Linked DNA regions of Homo sapiens: regions 2, 3, 4 and 5 are each linked to region 1. The links are contacts of gene promoters, found by promoter capture Hi-C in blood cells and fetal thymus (Javierre and others, 2016). All regions are on one chromosome and are shown on one strand. The core of a region is centred on a gene start or on the middle of the fragment in contact, and the rest is flanking DNA. Distances in the headings are between cores, read along the strand shown.

Region 1 (2,779 bases), core at 148-2,647:
GGGACTATGGGTTAGAGATAAAAACCCCTTCCCTCCTTTGTTCAGTGTGCTCTTGGGATCGTGATTAACACAGGCAGCACACTTGCACAGAAGTAAATTGCCTTGCTGAGAAAACTTTTGCCTGAGTGCTGGTTTCACTTTGCAGCACCAAGCATTGACTTCCAACAACACCATCTAGAATGCTTTCACATGCCAGGACCCCTCCTTTCTGGAAGGAATCTTAAGTGTCCACCCCTTCATCCCTGGCCTTCCACCCTAAACCCACCTCTCACTTCAGAGACCACACAAAATAACTTCCTTGAAATTCCACCCTCTAAATCTGATCTACTACAGGCTTTGACCTTATGCCTCACCCATTGAAGTCTCTAGCACAACTCCCTCTCTAGAACCCCAGACCTGCATGTTCAGCTACCCGTGATGAACCTCCAGTGCAGAACACCTTAGATTCACCAAGTCCAAAACCCAATTCCTGATGCCCCTGAAACGTGCTCCCTGCTGTGACTTACCAATTTCCATTCTTTCACACGTTCAGGAAGGAAAACAGGCCAAAAAAACCCTGGATAGCCCTTTCCTCCCTACATTCACTCACGACCACATCTGATGCGGCAGGAAACCCCATTGGTTCCATCTTTAAAAATCTACCCAGAATCTCATGACTTCCCCACCCAACCCCTCCTGCCACTGCTCTGGCCCAGCCACCACCGCAACACTTCTGGAGTTTGTTGCAGGGACCTCCTCAAACGTCTCCTTGCCTCCATCCTCATCGTTTCTACCTCACTGTAGTCGGTTTCCTCCTCAGCAAACATTGGAATACTTTAAAAATCCTTTTTCGGATCCCTTCCCTCCACCATTCAAAACCCGCCATGGCTCCTATCGTCCTCGCAATGAAGGAGCAACTTCTCCCCTCGACATTGCAGGCCTGACTACGGTTCACACACGCTCCCGACTGCTACGGGCTCAGTCCAGCTCCAAACCTATGCTCAGGCTGCCCCTCTGCCAGTCACACTCGCCCCCACCCACCAGCGCCCCGCTGCCTTGGACACTGGGGCCTGCGCTGCAGGGACTCAGACAGGCGCTCCTCATTTGGAACTTCAGGATTTGGGGCGGGCGAAAGTCTGGGAAAGGCAGCACCCACCTGCGCCGGGCCCATCACCGCGGCCGCCGCCATCACAGTTCGTAGACCACCCGGAGCCGCGAGGGGGTCCCAGGTCGCGGGACCCTGGCACCGCGGTCGTCCGTCCCCGGGGGCGCAGGCGGGGTCTTCGCTGGCGAGCCACTCCGCAGAGCGAACAGCGACTTCTCCCGCACCCTCCCGCTTCCGTCACCTCGGAACCGCCCAGCAACCCCGAGCTTCTGCTCCGATGGTTCCACCTAAGAGCCGACAAGATGTCCACCGCGAGGAAGATACCGGAAGTCCCGCCCAGAGAGCTTCCGTCCGCAGGGAGACGCCCCTAAGAGTGCCGCCGCCGGGCGGCGCACAGGTTTCTGGGCAATGCAGTTCTCATGTGCACTTGGCCGTGGTGACGGCTAACTCCCCTGCACGCTGGGCAAAGGCCAAATGGTACTGCGAGGGGCGCTGAGAAATTATGCCCTGAGACTCTGAGGTCAGGGCGTGGCTTCGCTCCTTTTAAAGGACCCTCAACCAGGTCTTGTGTAGTGAGGTCTGCAGGGATCCCCGAAATATTGGGATATATTCTTACAGATGTTCCCTGAAGCCACACCACCAAATGGACACACAACATCCAATGTCACTCTGAGTCCACTCATAGTTCAGTCAAATTTCCTTCATTTAAAAAATATGTGTACTGTAGAGGGAAGCTTTGAGTCAGTTTTGTGAGCCTCAGTTGGGTCAGAGTTAACAGAGAATTGTCCCCAGGCAGGGCCATGGAGTGGAAGAATGGTCTCCAGACAGTGGCTATGGAGGGATGCTGGAGCTCCCTGAGGCAAGTGGACTAATATAGAGCTCTTCCTCTGGTTTCCTCAGAAAAAAAATACCTGAGAGAACCATGAGGAGGAAGACAGGCGAGAGAAGGTGGTCAAGGAAGGCACCTTTCCTGCCTGTATGGTCACTAATGTCCAACCAAAGGAGAAATATTCTTTTATCCAAATGAGAGTTCCTAGCCCAAAAGTTGAGATATATCTATTTCCTTTTGGTGATGTTTCTTATCTGAAAAGAAGAACCATTATAAATGCTTTTATATGCCAAGACAGGGGCTGAAAATGTGGTGTCTGAACCCAGAAATAAAGATTTGGAAAATTGGGATCAGATTTCTTGGCTGGGAGGTGATTCTCATTTCACCTGCAATTACACCGACAGTGTCTGAATTGAGAATTGAGATTTATTTATGGTTTTAAAAAAGAAAAGGGCGAGTGTATGGGGAAAGAAAGACAAAAACATTTGTGAATTGTTTAAATTACTCAAAAGTTGTTTTGTGTTTTTTTTTTTTGAGACGGAGTCTTGCTCAGTCGCCCAGGCTGGAGTGCAGTGGTGCGACCATAGCTCACTGCAGGCTCCGCCTCCCAGGTTCACACTATTCTCCTGCCTCAGCCTCCGGAGTAGCTGGGATTACAGGCGCCTGCCACCATGCCCGGCTAACTTTTTGTATTTTTAGTAGAGATGGGGTTTCACCGTGTTAGCCAGGATGGTCTCGATCTCCTGACCTCGTGATCTGCCCGCCTCAGCCTCCCAAAGTGCTGGGATTACAGGAGAGCCCCCGCGCCCGGCCAAATTACTCAAAGTTAATAATTCTGTAGTTATTCACAGATACATGACGAAATG
Region 2 (2,779 bases), core at 193-2,692, 940 kb after region 1:
TGGTTCTTAGGAAAACTTTTTTTTATTTTTTACATTTTTTGGTGTCCGTTTGTATTGAATAATTTGCTACATTTGTAAAATGTAAGAGGTATATATAATATATGTATATTTCTAACGTAAAAACAATTTTTTTCTTTTCAAGATTTTTTCTTAAAAAGATGAGAGAAACATATTTTTTCAGGAAAAACAAACTTTAAAAAAAAAAGAGGAGAAATAAAACCTTTTCTCCCCTTTCCCCATCCTCTATCTATCCCTGTTTCCCAGGAACAAATCAAAAGGTGGATTATCTTCTGAAGAATGGAAACTGTTAGTCCAGAATGATGTCTTTTTCTCAATGCAGTGAGTTATAGATTCTCTAGTTTTCTCCCTAGGGATGGGAAGGGGGCATTGACGCAAGCCTGGAGAGGAGCCCGGGGAGCAGGGTCATGAAGTTTTTTCTTCAGTGAAGGAGGAATACAATCAAGGGTTTTGTATTCAGAATGTTGTGCAATATTTTGGAATAGGACATTGGTGTGTTTAGAGATTTTAGTTTAAAAACAAAACAAAAAGATTGATCAAATCTGTACAGTTTCTATTGTTCCAGATTTTTTAAAGTTTGTATTAAAAGCATGATACATAATAAAAATAAATAAATAAATAAAACTAAAAAGTAAAATGAAATTCTTCATCTATGTTAATGGATTTGCCACCTTCTTTGCCATAGACTGGAATGACATCAGCTACCTGAGACCAAAATAAAAGTGTGGGTTGCAAACCCTGGCACCTACCTTTTTAGATTCCGCAGCCTGCAGTAGGGACTTAGCCTGTCTGAACCTCAGCTTCCTTCTTTCTTCTTCTTTTTTTTTGAGACGAAGTCTCGCTCTGTCACCCAGGCTGGAGTGCAGTGGTGCGATCTCAGCTCACTGCAACCCTCGCCTCCCAGGTTCAAGCCATTCTCCCGCCTCAGCCTTCCAAGTAGCTGGAAGTGCATGCCACCATGCTCGGCTAATTTTTGTATTTTTAGTAGAGACGGGGGTTTCGCCATATTGGCCAGGCTGGTCTCGAACTCCTGACCTCAGGTGATCCACCCGCCTCGGCCTCCCTAAGCGCTGGGATGACAGGTGCCCGGACTCAAGTTCCTTCTTTCTAAGCCTGTGGGCTCGGCCTCATCCCCTGAGCAAGAAAAAAGTCCCACCCCTGAGTTACTGGAAGCGCCCACCGCCATGCACTGAGGCTGTAGTGGGCGGGGCTCGGGGCAGCAGCCCGGCGCTCCTCGGGCCCCCAGGGGTCAGCGCCCTGCGGACCTAGCGTGTGCAGACGCTTAGCCTTCTGGGAGTTGTAGTTTCGATGACCCAGGCTTTGCAAGCTTTAGTCGCGGTGCCGGCGAGCGCGCAGCGCCCCCTGGGAGTCGTAGTTCCTAAGAACCAGGCGGGCCCGATGCGCAGGCGCAGTCCACCCCGGCCTGGTGCGCGGGCTCCTCCGCAGCAGCAGAAGTCTTGACCTTAGCTCGTCTAAGGAAGGAGGCACCAGGGTCTGCGTTGGCCCAGGAGGACCCGAGACTGAGTAGAAGCGGAGCCGACTGCACCAGGCTAGGAGGGGGCCGGCCAGCGCGTTCGAAGGTGATACCGGGAGGCGAGAGCAACGGTGTGTAGTGTGCGCGTGTTCCTGCAGGTGTGTGACCGCGTGTGAGCCCGTCCCCGAGTGCCATTGTGTCTGCACCTGTTCACTTAGCGGTGTCAGCCCGTATAGGTGTGTGACTGCCTGTGAGCCCGTCCCTGAGTAACACAGCGTCTGCACCTGGTCACTCGACGGTACCAGCAGGTGCAGGTGTGTGACTGCCTGTGAGCCTGTCACTGCATCTGCACCTGCTTACTCGGCGGTGCCAGCCCGTCACTGTGTCTGTACCTGCTCACTTGGCGGTGCCAGGCCGTGCAGGTGTGTGACTGGCTGTGAGCCTGTCCCTGAGTGTCACAGCGTCTGCACCTGCTCACTCGACGGTACCAGCAGGTGCAGGTGTGTGACTGCCTGTGAGCCCGTCCCTGAGTGTCACAGCGTCTGCCCCTGCTCACTTGGCGGTGCCAGCCCATCACTGTGTCTGTACCTGCTCACTCGGCGGTGCCAGGCCTTGCAGGTGTGTGACTGCCTGTGAGCCCGTCCCCGAGTGTCACTGTGTCTGCACCTGCTCACTCAGTGGTGCCAGCCCAGGCAGGTGACTGCAGGTAAAGGCATGTAACACTTTATCGGTGTGTTATGTGCTCGTTCATGTGAAGCGGTGTCTGCATATCACAGCATGTCACATACACGTGTGGCTGCCTTTGGGCAAGTCTGAAAGTTCTCCTGGATGTGAGGTGTGTGACCCCACGTGTGCATGTCTGGGTGTGCCGCCGTGTAGGCTGGCTCGGCCCGTGTGCCTGCCAGCACAATGATGGGTGACCTGGCTGTGCGAGCCTGTAGAGTGCCGTGCTGTCTGAAGTGTGTGCATCTGCACATGATGGAGACGCTGCACATGTGGGCTTTGGCTATGCTGGAGCTCTATCCACCGAGTGTGACTGCACATGTGTCCAGCCATCCCCTGTGGGTGTGTCCCAGTAATGGCCGGCCTGTGTGGAGCAGGTGGCATGTGTGACCTTGTGCGTCTCTGTGCACCTCTTCACACAGGGAGCTACGTGTGGGGCTGGGTGTGTGTGTAGCTACGTGTGCCCGGGACCCTGTGTGCATGTGTGAGTGTGGCTGCAGGTGATGGCTTCCCACCTGCCTCCTTGCATGGGGGTTAGGAGGGCGACTGTGTGTCCCTGGATAT
Region 3 (2,779 bases), core at 133-2,632, 850 kb before region 1:
GGAGCAGCCTCAACAACCTGTGAACACAGAGGAACTCAATCCCTTCCTCCTTTCACCCGGTGTCCCCTTTCTTCCCCTCTCTGTTGCCACCCTCCCCTCCTCAGTTAGGTGCTAGGCTCTTCCCAATAGCCCCAGGCATCCCAGCTGGTCTTCTTTACCCTCAAGCCATAACTGCCCACACCTGGCTGAGTCCCTGCCCATTCCTCAGTCCAATTCATAGGCCCTGTCCACAGCCCAGGACGCCAACAACGTCAGGTCCAGTGACATGACCAACCTGGGACATCCCAGACTCTTGATCTTTCCCCTGAAGGAAACCTGCTTTCCTTTCAATTCTCCTTTCTATCTACAGCAGCTCTCTTCTTCCAGGCGCTCAGGCTGAACAACATGGGGTACTTAGTTCTTCAAACAGCCCACACCTGATGCATCCGCAGATCCACCAGAATTCACCTGGTCGCCCACCTCCACTGCTGCCCAGACTGTGGCAGTCGGTTCTTCCCTTCATGCCGACACCCCTGCATGTCTGTTCTCCACGCAACAAACGGTGGAACCGTTTTAAAGTCCTCAGAGGATGTCCTGATTCTGTTCAAAACTTCTATGTCTCCCGACGCCCTCGAGATAAAGCCCACTCCCTCGCCTGATACTGCAGCCGCACACATCCCCTCTACTCCAGCTCCACATCGAGAGAGCTCAGTCCCAGAAGCACCTGGGCTTCGGCTCCCCTCCCAGGTTTTGCACACGCAGGACTCTCCCCTCGGAGCCTCCTTCGGGACCTCAGCCCCCTGGCTGCCCGAACTCGGGAGCTCACCAGTGCCCTGGACGCAGGAGTTTGCACTGACCCCCGCAACCCCCCCAGGGCAGGGAGAGGAAAGACGACTAGGCGAGGTCTAGGAAGCGGCCTCCCTCCGTGAGGGCGCGGTCTGTGTGAGCAGGGACTCCCCTGCTTCCCCGACGCGGGCTTGTCAGCGCCACCGCCGCCAGCGGAACCCGCAGCTGGGAGGGAAGAAAGGCGTGGACCACCCAGCCTTTCCCCGCCAGCAGCGTCCCGGGGCCGCCCCGCGCCTCAGTCTCCCCGGCCATCATGGACGTGGAACGCCCAGCGCGCAGCCTCCTGGGCTGCCGCACGGTGGGAGAGCGCATGGCTCCCGCCGCGGCCCGACAGTCCCCTGGACGCCCACGACGCACTCTGAGAAACAGAGGCTTGGGGGCGCGGCCGGCGGCCGGCGCCCTTGATCACGACGCGTGCGCAGGGCGGGCCCGACGCGGGCCCTCAGCCAGTACCTTCCTCGCCGCCAGCCTCGAGCACCAGGAACCCCCTGGAAACCGGACCCGACCCGCGGTCCCCAGCCCAGACCACCGGTGTGGCCTGACGCGGGCGGCGAAGTGACAGTCCCACCGCCGGAAGTCCAGCCCTTCGGTTCTCATTGGCCCAGTGCGCGCCGCGGACGCTTGCGTACAGCCTTCCGGGTCACGTGGTTCCCGCCTGTTTCCCTGCGTGGAGGCGGGGCCACTACCGGTCTCCTTGGCAACGTCCAAGCCCCTGCCGCGCGGGGCGCTGGGAAATGGAGTCGCGCGGCGGCCTCGGGTTTTCAAGGGCTTGGTGGCGCTGGTGGATTCGCCCGGTGTGTAGTCCTGCCTTCGGCATTCCAGGTGTCCTCCCAAGCAGTCCCGGAGACTAAACCCTGCAGGTGCGAAAGCAGAAACTGCCGAGGTTCCAAGAGGCAACACCAGCAGTGAGCACGGAGGAGAAAATGCACCGGGTAGCGCAGGTGGAGGTGGAGGAGCCGATGCCTGGAGCTCCGGGTTCCCTTCCCAGCTCTGCCTCTCACTGACTGTGCGTCCTGGGCGCGGGTTTGACCTCTCTGTGTCAATGTCCCGTAAAGGTTTAAGGTCCGTTTTCAACCTTTACACCAAGAATTCTCAGCCCGTAAGCCTACATTTGTCTTAAGTATGAGACTGTTCCTCGACACTTGCCCAAAGCATCTGTTTTCCTTGTAATTTGGATGGGCAGAAGTTAATTCCCCAGATTTGCTTGTCCTTAGACCATCTAGATCTTGTCTTGCCCCACACATCACAATATTCATTCTTTTTTCCTTTTTTCTTGGGACTCATTTAAGTTTTTTTTTTTTTTTTTTAACAGGGTCTTTGTTCTGTTGCCCGTGCTGGAGTGCAGTGGCACAATCTCGGCTCACTGCAACCTCTGCCTTCAGGTTCAAGTGATCCCCCCGCCTCAGCCTCCGTAGTAGCTGGGACCACAGGTGTGCGCCACCATGCCTGGCTAATTTTTGTATTTTTTAGTAGAGATGGAGTTTCACCATGTTGGCCAGGCTGGTCTTGAACTCCTGACCTCAGGTGATCCGCCCACCTCGTTCTCCCAAAGTGCTGGGATTACAGGCCAATTTAAGTGTCTTTGACACATAAAAACGAAAGGCAGAGCAGTCTCAATGTAGACTGTCTTGTTTGGCAGATAATAAAAGGTTCTTTGTCTTGTTTTTGGAACCTGTAGACAGTTCTCAGCTGTCCAGTTCCTTAACTCTTTTTGCCTCCCTCCCTCTATACCTACCTCCATCTATAACTATCTCTCTGTCAACTGTCAGCTATAACTGTCCACCTAATTGATTCTACTTGTAAATCCTTGTAGAGCAAGGGAGCTCATCATGTTTGGAATGTTTTAATATAAATTTTGCTACTTTGAAAGAATTTAAGAACATTTCAGGACTGGGCGCAGTGGCTCACACCTGGAATCTGAGCACTTTGGGTGGCCAAGGTGAGCGATCACTGG
Region 4 (2,779 bases), core at 134-2,633, 750 kb before region 1:
CTGTGGACCTGGGCCATGTACCCACACCTGCCCAAACCACCTGGGCTGAGGTGAGAGCTCCCTAGTACAAATTGGGAAAAATTGGTACAAAAAGAGCTCGTGGAGGCCGGGTGCAGTGGCTCGGGTCTGTAATCCTAGCACTTTGGGAGGCCAAGGTGGGAGGATCACTTGAGCCCAGAAGTTCAAGACCAGCCTGGGCCATATAGCGAGACCCCGTCTCTAGCTATTCATTTATTTTAGCTTACAGCATCTGGTCTATGTTGTTTTTTGAGACGGAGTCTTGCTCTGTCACCCAGGCTGGAGTGTGCAGTGGCACGACCTCAGCTCACTGTAACTTCTGCCTCCCCGGTTCAAGCGATTCTCCTGCCTCAGCCTCCCGAGTAGCTGGGATTATAGGCACACGCCAACAAGCCTAATTTTTGTATTTTCAGTAGAGACGGGGTTTCACCATGTTGGTCAGGCTGGTCTCGAACTCCTGACCTCGTGATCTGCCCGCCTCGGCCTCCCAAAGTTCTGGGATTACAGGCGTGAGCCACCGCGCCCGGTTTATTTATTTATTTTAGCCAACAGCACTCGGTGTTCCCAGACGGTCTCCCAAGTACTAACCAGGCCCGACCCTGCTTAGCTTCTGAGATCCCGACTCAATTTTTTTTTTTTTTTTTTGAGACGGAGTCTCGTTCTGTCGCCCCAGGCTGGAGTGCAGTGTCGCGATCTCGGCTCACTGCAAGCTCCGCCTCCCAGGTTCAAGCGATTCTCCTGCCTCAGCCTCCCGAGTAGCTGGGACTACAGGCGCCCGCCACCACGCCCGGCTAATTTTTTGTATTTTTAGTAGAGACGGGGTTTCTCCGTGTTAGCCAGGATGGTCTCGATCTCCTGACCTCGTGATCCGCCCGCCTCGACCTCCCAAAGTGCTGGGATTACAGGCGTGAGTCACCGCGCCCGGCCCCCGACTCTATTTTAAAAACCGCGTGGATTCCAGCTTGGTGGGTGTTCCACAGCGCGTGGGTGTGAGACGCAGCTCAGTGGCGTCAACTCAGCAAGGTTCCAGGGTGGTAAAGACGGCCTGGGGCCGGAGGAGGACCGCCAGGGAGAAGCTACGTTGGCCCGACTTGCGTCCGCGACCCGGGCAGCCCCAGGCGCCTGTGTAGCTGTTGGGTGTGTGCCGCAGAGGCTGGCCGGGTGCAGGAAGGGGCGGAGCGCATCCATGGCAACGCAGGACGCCCGAGTAGCTTGGCTGTGGCGCCGTCCCCATGGGAACCAGAAGGCGCGCGCCCGCAGCCGCGGCATAGTTACGCAGGCGCAGTGGGGAGAAACGCGACGCCTTGGGCCGCTCTGCCGAATGCAACCGCGCCCCCAGGAGACCCGGTGCCCGCCCTCCTACCATTCCACGCGGCTCGAGCCCGCGTGCGGGCCTCTTTCAGGCCGCTCCTAGTGGACGCAGAGGCGGGCCGAGGACGGTGAGTGACGCCGACGGACACCCTCGGCCAGGCACAGATCCGCCCTCCGGCTCCAACCACTCCCGCCGCGCGGGGCAGGACGGGCCTCGGCCCTGAGCTGGGCCCTCTGGGACCACCGAGAGATAGGCCTCCGCGCCGTCCAGAGCGGCCCGGAAGTGGCCCTGCACGGGCCAGAGGCGACCGTGGTCGGGACGGAAATGGCTCCCGTTTGCTGTTCTCTCGGTGAACGCGAGCCTTATGGCGATCAGTTCTGTGGCATCGTTCCTCCTGCTCGTTTATTCTTTCACTCATTCACTCATGCCCTGCCGCGCCATCATTTCTTCCCACATTCATTTATTCGTTCATCAGTCCCCAGCCCCGGGTAGTTTCGGAGCTCACCAGGCTGGGCTCGCCTCCCAGCCTCCGGAGCTGCCCGCACAGGCCTCGCGCCACCTGGCCGCAGCTTCCTCCCCTTTATCCACTCCGTATTTGTTTGTCCAGCCTAGGCCTTGGGGGTTGTGGGGGAGACACAAGTACCCGTGACTGGTCGGACAAGTGCCCGTTGTTGGGGGCGTGGGCGCTGGGACTGACGCGGGAGGTGGCTCTGATCATGTCGAGGTGAGGAGGAGGCGTTGAGGCTCAGAAAGGGCACGCAGCGTGGACGTGAGGACGTCGGGGAGGCTGGAGCAGTGAGGCCGACAGGAAGGACCTTACGGGGCTCACATGCTATCCCACGACGAGGACGGACTCAGGACGGCAGCCCTGATAGATGCGGCTGGGGGCTGGCGGGTCGGGGTCGCACACCACAGGATGGAGGGGCAGCGGTGCCTGGCTCCGCCTTAAGAAACATGGGCCCTTGGGGGACCCGGATTTCTGATACTTCAATACACAAATATGGATTTTTATTGAAATCAGATGTCGTTTTTTTAAAATTTAACTTTTGATTTGAGGTAATTATAAATTCACATGCAGTAACAAGTAATGCATACCCTATGTACGCTTTACCCAATTCCCCTAAAGGTGGCATCTTGAAAAACTAGAGGCCAGGTGCGGTGGCTCATGTCTGTAATCCCAGCACTTTGGGAGGCCAAGGCGGGTGGATCCCTTGAGCTCAGGAGTTAAAGACCAGCCTGAGCAACATGGTGAAACCCCATCTGTACTGAAAACACAAAAATTAGGCGGGTGTGGAGGCTGGTGCCTGTAATCCCAGCTACTCGGGAGTCTCAGGCAGGAGAATCGCTTGTACCCAGGAGGCGGAGGTCGCGGTGAGCCCACATCACGCCACTGCACTCCAACCTGGGCAACAGAGCGAGACTCTGTCTCAAAAAAAGAGAAGAGAAAGA
Region 5 (2,779 bases), core at 74-2,573, 510 kb before region 1:
TGCCCACCTCGGCCTCCCAAAGTGCTGGGATTACAGGCGTGACCACCGCGCCTGGCCGACATGATCCAGTTTTTATAACAACCATGCAGGGCAGTCTTTGACAGTTTTTGTTTTGTTTTGTTTTTTGAGATGGAGTCTCACTCTGCCGCGTAGGCTGGAGTGCAGTGGTGTGATCTCAGCTCACTGCAACCTCTGCCTACCAGGTTGAAGTGATTCTCCTGCCTCAGCCTCCAGAGTAGCTGGGACTACAGGCATGTGCCACCACGCCTGGCTGATTTTTTTTGTATTTTTAGTAGAGACGGTGTTTCACCATGTTGGTCAGGCTGGTCTTGAACTCCTGACTTCAAATGATCCACCTGCCTCCACTTCCCAAAGTGCTGGGATTACAGGAGTGAACCACTGTGCCCCGCCAGGTCATTGACAGTTCTAAGACTTAGACCCAGAACTTTTAGGTCACCAAGCCTGTGCTTTGTCCTATCCATGAATGCAGAACTTTGATGACAGAGCTGGGGTGAGAACTGTTCCTTCAGTGCTGTTGTAAGCTCATTGTGAAGTCAGAGCTTTGGAAATGTGTACTGATGGGCAGTGTGTGACAGGGACAAGAATGCAGTGGCTGGGATGGAATTCTAGGGGGAGCAGGGATGCTTGGCCTCTGGTCTCTCACATCTCAAACTAATCCTTTTGGTGATGATTTATCCCGAGGTCCATTCCTCCTGCCTGCTCTCTAGGAAGATGAAAATGCTACATGGCTCTTTTTGAATCTGTTCTTGGTTCCATTCCTTGGCTACGATTTTACCTCTTCCTTGTATAAATTTGAATTTAAAAGAGAAAACAAGTAAAAAAATACACATCTTTACACCTAGCCCATCATCATTGTCTGTTTCTCTTACAGATAAAGCTTCATATACCTAAGTCTGCATTTTTCTTCTTTTTGCAGTTTGGGATATGAGATTGAAAATGACGACTCGGAATTTTCCTGAGAGAGAAGTACCCTGTGATGTAGAAGTGGAAAGATTCACAAGGGAAGTTCCCTGCTTGTCCAGTTTAGGTGATGGTTGGGACTGTGAGAACCAGGAGGGACACTTGAGGCAATCAGCTTTAACTCTGGAGAAACCAGGGACTCAGGAAGCAATTTGTGAATATCCTGGTTTTGGGGAGCATTTGATTGCAAGCTCAGACCTTCCACCGTCTCAGAGAGTTCTGGCAACAAATGGTTTCCATGCACCTGACTCAAATGTTAGTGGTCTGGATTGTGACCCCGCCTTACCCAGCTATCCTAAAAGTTATGCAGATAAGAGAACTGGTGACAGTGATGCCTGTGGAAAAGGCTTCAACCATTCCATGGAAGTTATTCATGGAAGAAATCCAGTGAGAGAGAAGCCCTACAAATACCCTGAAAGTGTTAAGTCTTTTAATCATTTTACCTCTCTTGGTCATCAGAAAATAATGAAAAGAGGCAAGAAATCGTATGAAGGTAAGAATTTTGAGAACATCTTTACTCTGAGCTCATCGCTTAATGAAAACCAGAGAAATCTCCCTGGAGAGAAACAATATAGATGTACTGAATGTGGCAAATGCTTCAAACGGAACTCTTCTCTTGTTTTGCATCACCGAACTCACACCGGAGAGAAGCCTTATACTTGTAATGAGTGTGGAAAGTCCTTCTCCAAGAACTACAACCTGATTGTGCATCAAAGAATCCACACAGGAGAGAAGCCCTATGAATGCAGTAAATGTGGGAAAGCTTTCAGTGATGGCTCAGCTCTGACACAGCACCAGAGAATTCACACAGGCGAGAAACCTTATGAATGCCTAGAGTGTGGAAAAACCTTCAACCGAAATTCATCCTTAATTTTGCACCAAAGAACTCATACAGGGGAAAAACCATATAGATGTAACGAATGTGGGAAACCCTTCACTGACATCTCCCACCTTACAGTGCATCTCAGAATCCACACCGGTGAGAAGCCCTATGAGTGTAGCAAATGTGGAAAGGCTTTCCGGGACGGCTCGTACCTCACCCAGCATGAGAGGACTCACACTGGAGAAAAGCCCTTTGAGTGTGCAGAGTGCGGGAAATCCTTCAACAGAAACTCTCACCTCATTGTGCATCAAAAGATCCATTCTGGGGAGAAACCCTATGAATGTAAAGAATGTGGCAAGACTTTCATCGAGAGTGCGTACCTCATCAGGCATCAGAGGATTCATACTGGCGAGAAGCCCTATGGCTGCAACCAGTGTCAGAAACTTTTCAGGAATATCGCTGGCCTCATTAGGCACCAGAGGACTCATACTGGTGAGAAGCCCTATGAGTGTAATCAGTGTGGCAAAGCCTTCAGGGACAGCTCCTGTCTGACCAAGCACCAGAGAATTCACACTAAGGAGACCCCATATCAGTGTCCAGAATGTGGGAAGTCCTTCAAGCAGAACTCTCACCTGGCAGTACATCAGAGACTCCATAGCAGGGAGGGTCCCAGCCGGTGTCCTCAGTGTGGAAAAATGTTCCAAAAGAGCTCATCCCTTGTTCGACATCAAAGAGCACACCTGGGAGAGCAACCCATGGAAACATAATGGTTGGGGGCCACATGAGTCTTCCAGTTCACTCTCACTCCTGTGTTTAGGAGGCGTGTCTTAGATCTGACTCCTCTCTGGTCAGTAGAAAAGAATCCTTTAAGCTATCCAGTGAATTGATGAATGTGAGACATTGCTGAGCCACACTGTTAAGTCTGCTCATTGGGGAACTCCAGAGACAACTTAGGATGAGGGCAGAAAAGTCTTT

The links. Contacts are between HindIII fragments. The CHiCAGO score rates a contact against its expected background, and 5 or more counts as called.
Region 2: a contact is called between the fragment with the promoter of ZNF835 here and the fragment with the promoter of ZNF134 in region 1, in 8 of 17 cell types (total CD4 T cells, M1 macrophages, naive CD4 T cells and 5 more). The highest score is 7.1, in total CD4 T cells.
Region 3: the fragment with the promoter of ZNF324 here is called in contact with the fragment with the promoter of ZNF134 in region 1 in 13 of 17 cell types (neutrophils, total CD4 T cells, activated CD4 T cells and 10 more); the score reaches 15.9 in neutrophils.
Region 4: a contact is called between the fragment with the promoter of ZNF497 here and the fragment with the promoter of ZNF134 in region 1, in 12 of 17 cell types (neutrophils, monocytes, total B cells and 9 more). The highest score is 14.3, in neutrophils.
Region 5: a fragment that was not itself captured here is called in contact with the fragment with the promoter of ZNF134 in region 1 in 5 of 17 cell types (activated CD4 T cells, total CD8 T cells, naive CD8 T cells and 2 more); the score reaches 6.1 in activated CD4 T cells.

What each region holds. Positions count from the first base shown.
Region 1 is chr19:57,612,860-57,615,638 of GRCh38, reverse strand. It overlaps ZNF134 (zinc finger protein 134), which reads right to left and starts at 1,397. Exons shown (of 3, transcript NM_003435.5): 1 at 1,136-1,397. RefSeq lists a silencer at 1,143-1,192 and an enhancer at 1,323-1,502. The HindIII fragment of the contact is 2,580 bases long and covers 1-1,820 here.
Region 2 is chr19:56,670,420-56,673,198 of GRCh38, reverse strand. It overlaps ZNF835 (zinc finger protein 835), which reads left to right and starts at 1,442. Exons shown (of 2, transcript NM_001005850.3): 1 at 1,442-1,623. LOC105372473 (a long non-coding RNA gene) reads right to left here and starts at 1,220. Exons shown (of 4, transcript XR_936110.4): 1 at 768-1,220. The HindIII fragment of the contact is 4,177 bases long and covers 1,348-2,779 here.
Region 3 is chr19:58,465,683-58,468,461 of GRCh38, reverse strand. ZNF324 (zinc finger protein 324) reads right to left here and starts at 1,382. Exons shown (of 4, transcript NM_014347.3): 1 at 1,279-1,382. RefSeq lists enhancers at 1, 420-1,034, 1,035-1,651 and silencers at 1,133-1,262, 1,343-1,392. The HindIII fragment of the contact is 6,014 bases long and covers 1-2,779 here.
Region 4 is chr19:58,361,355-58,364,133 of GRCh38, reverse strand. It overlaps ZNF497 (zinc finger protein 497), which reads left to right and starts at 1,383. Exons shown (of 3, transcript NM_198458.3): 1 at 1,383-1,457. It overlaps ZNF497-AS1 (ZNF497 antisense RNA 1), which reads right to left and starts at 1,508. Exons shown (of 3, transcript NR_136527.1): 1 at 1,382-1,508. It also overlaps the pseudogene RNA5SP473. RefSeq lists enhancers at 1,689-1,818, 1,548-2,096. The HindIII fragment of the contact is 6,825 bases long and covers 1-2,779 here.
Region 5 is chr19:58,127,670-58,130,448 of GRCh38, reverse strand. ZNF329 (zinc finger protein 329) reads left to right here. Exons shown (of 4, transcript NM_024620.4): 4 at 938-2,779. The coding sequence starts at 946. The coding sequence ends at 2,571. Among named protein-coding and RNA genes, the nearest start is that of ZNF329, 22 kb to the left of the region's middle. The HindIII fragment of the contact is 846 bases long and covers 901-1,746 here.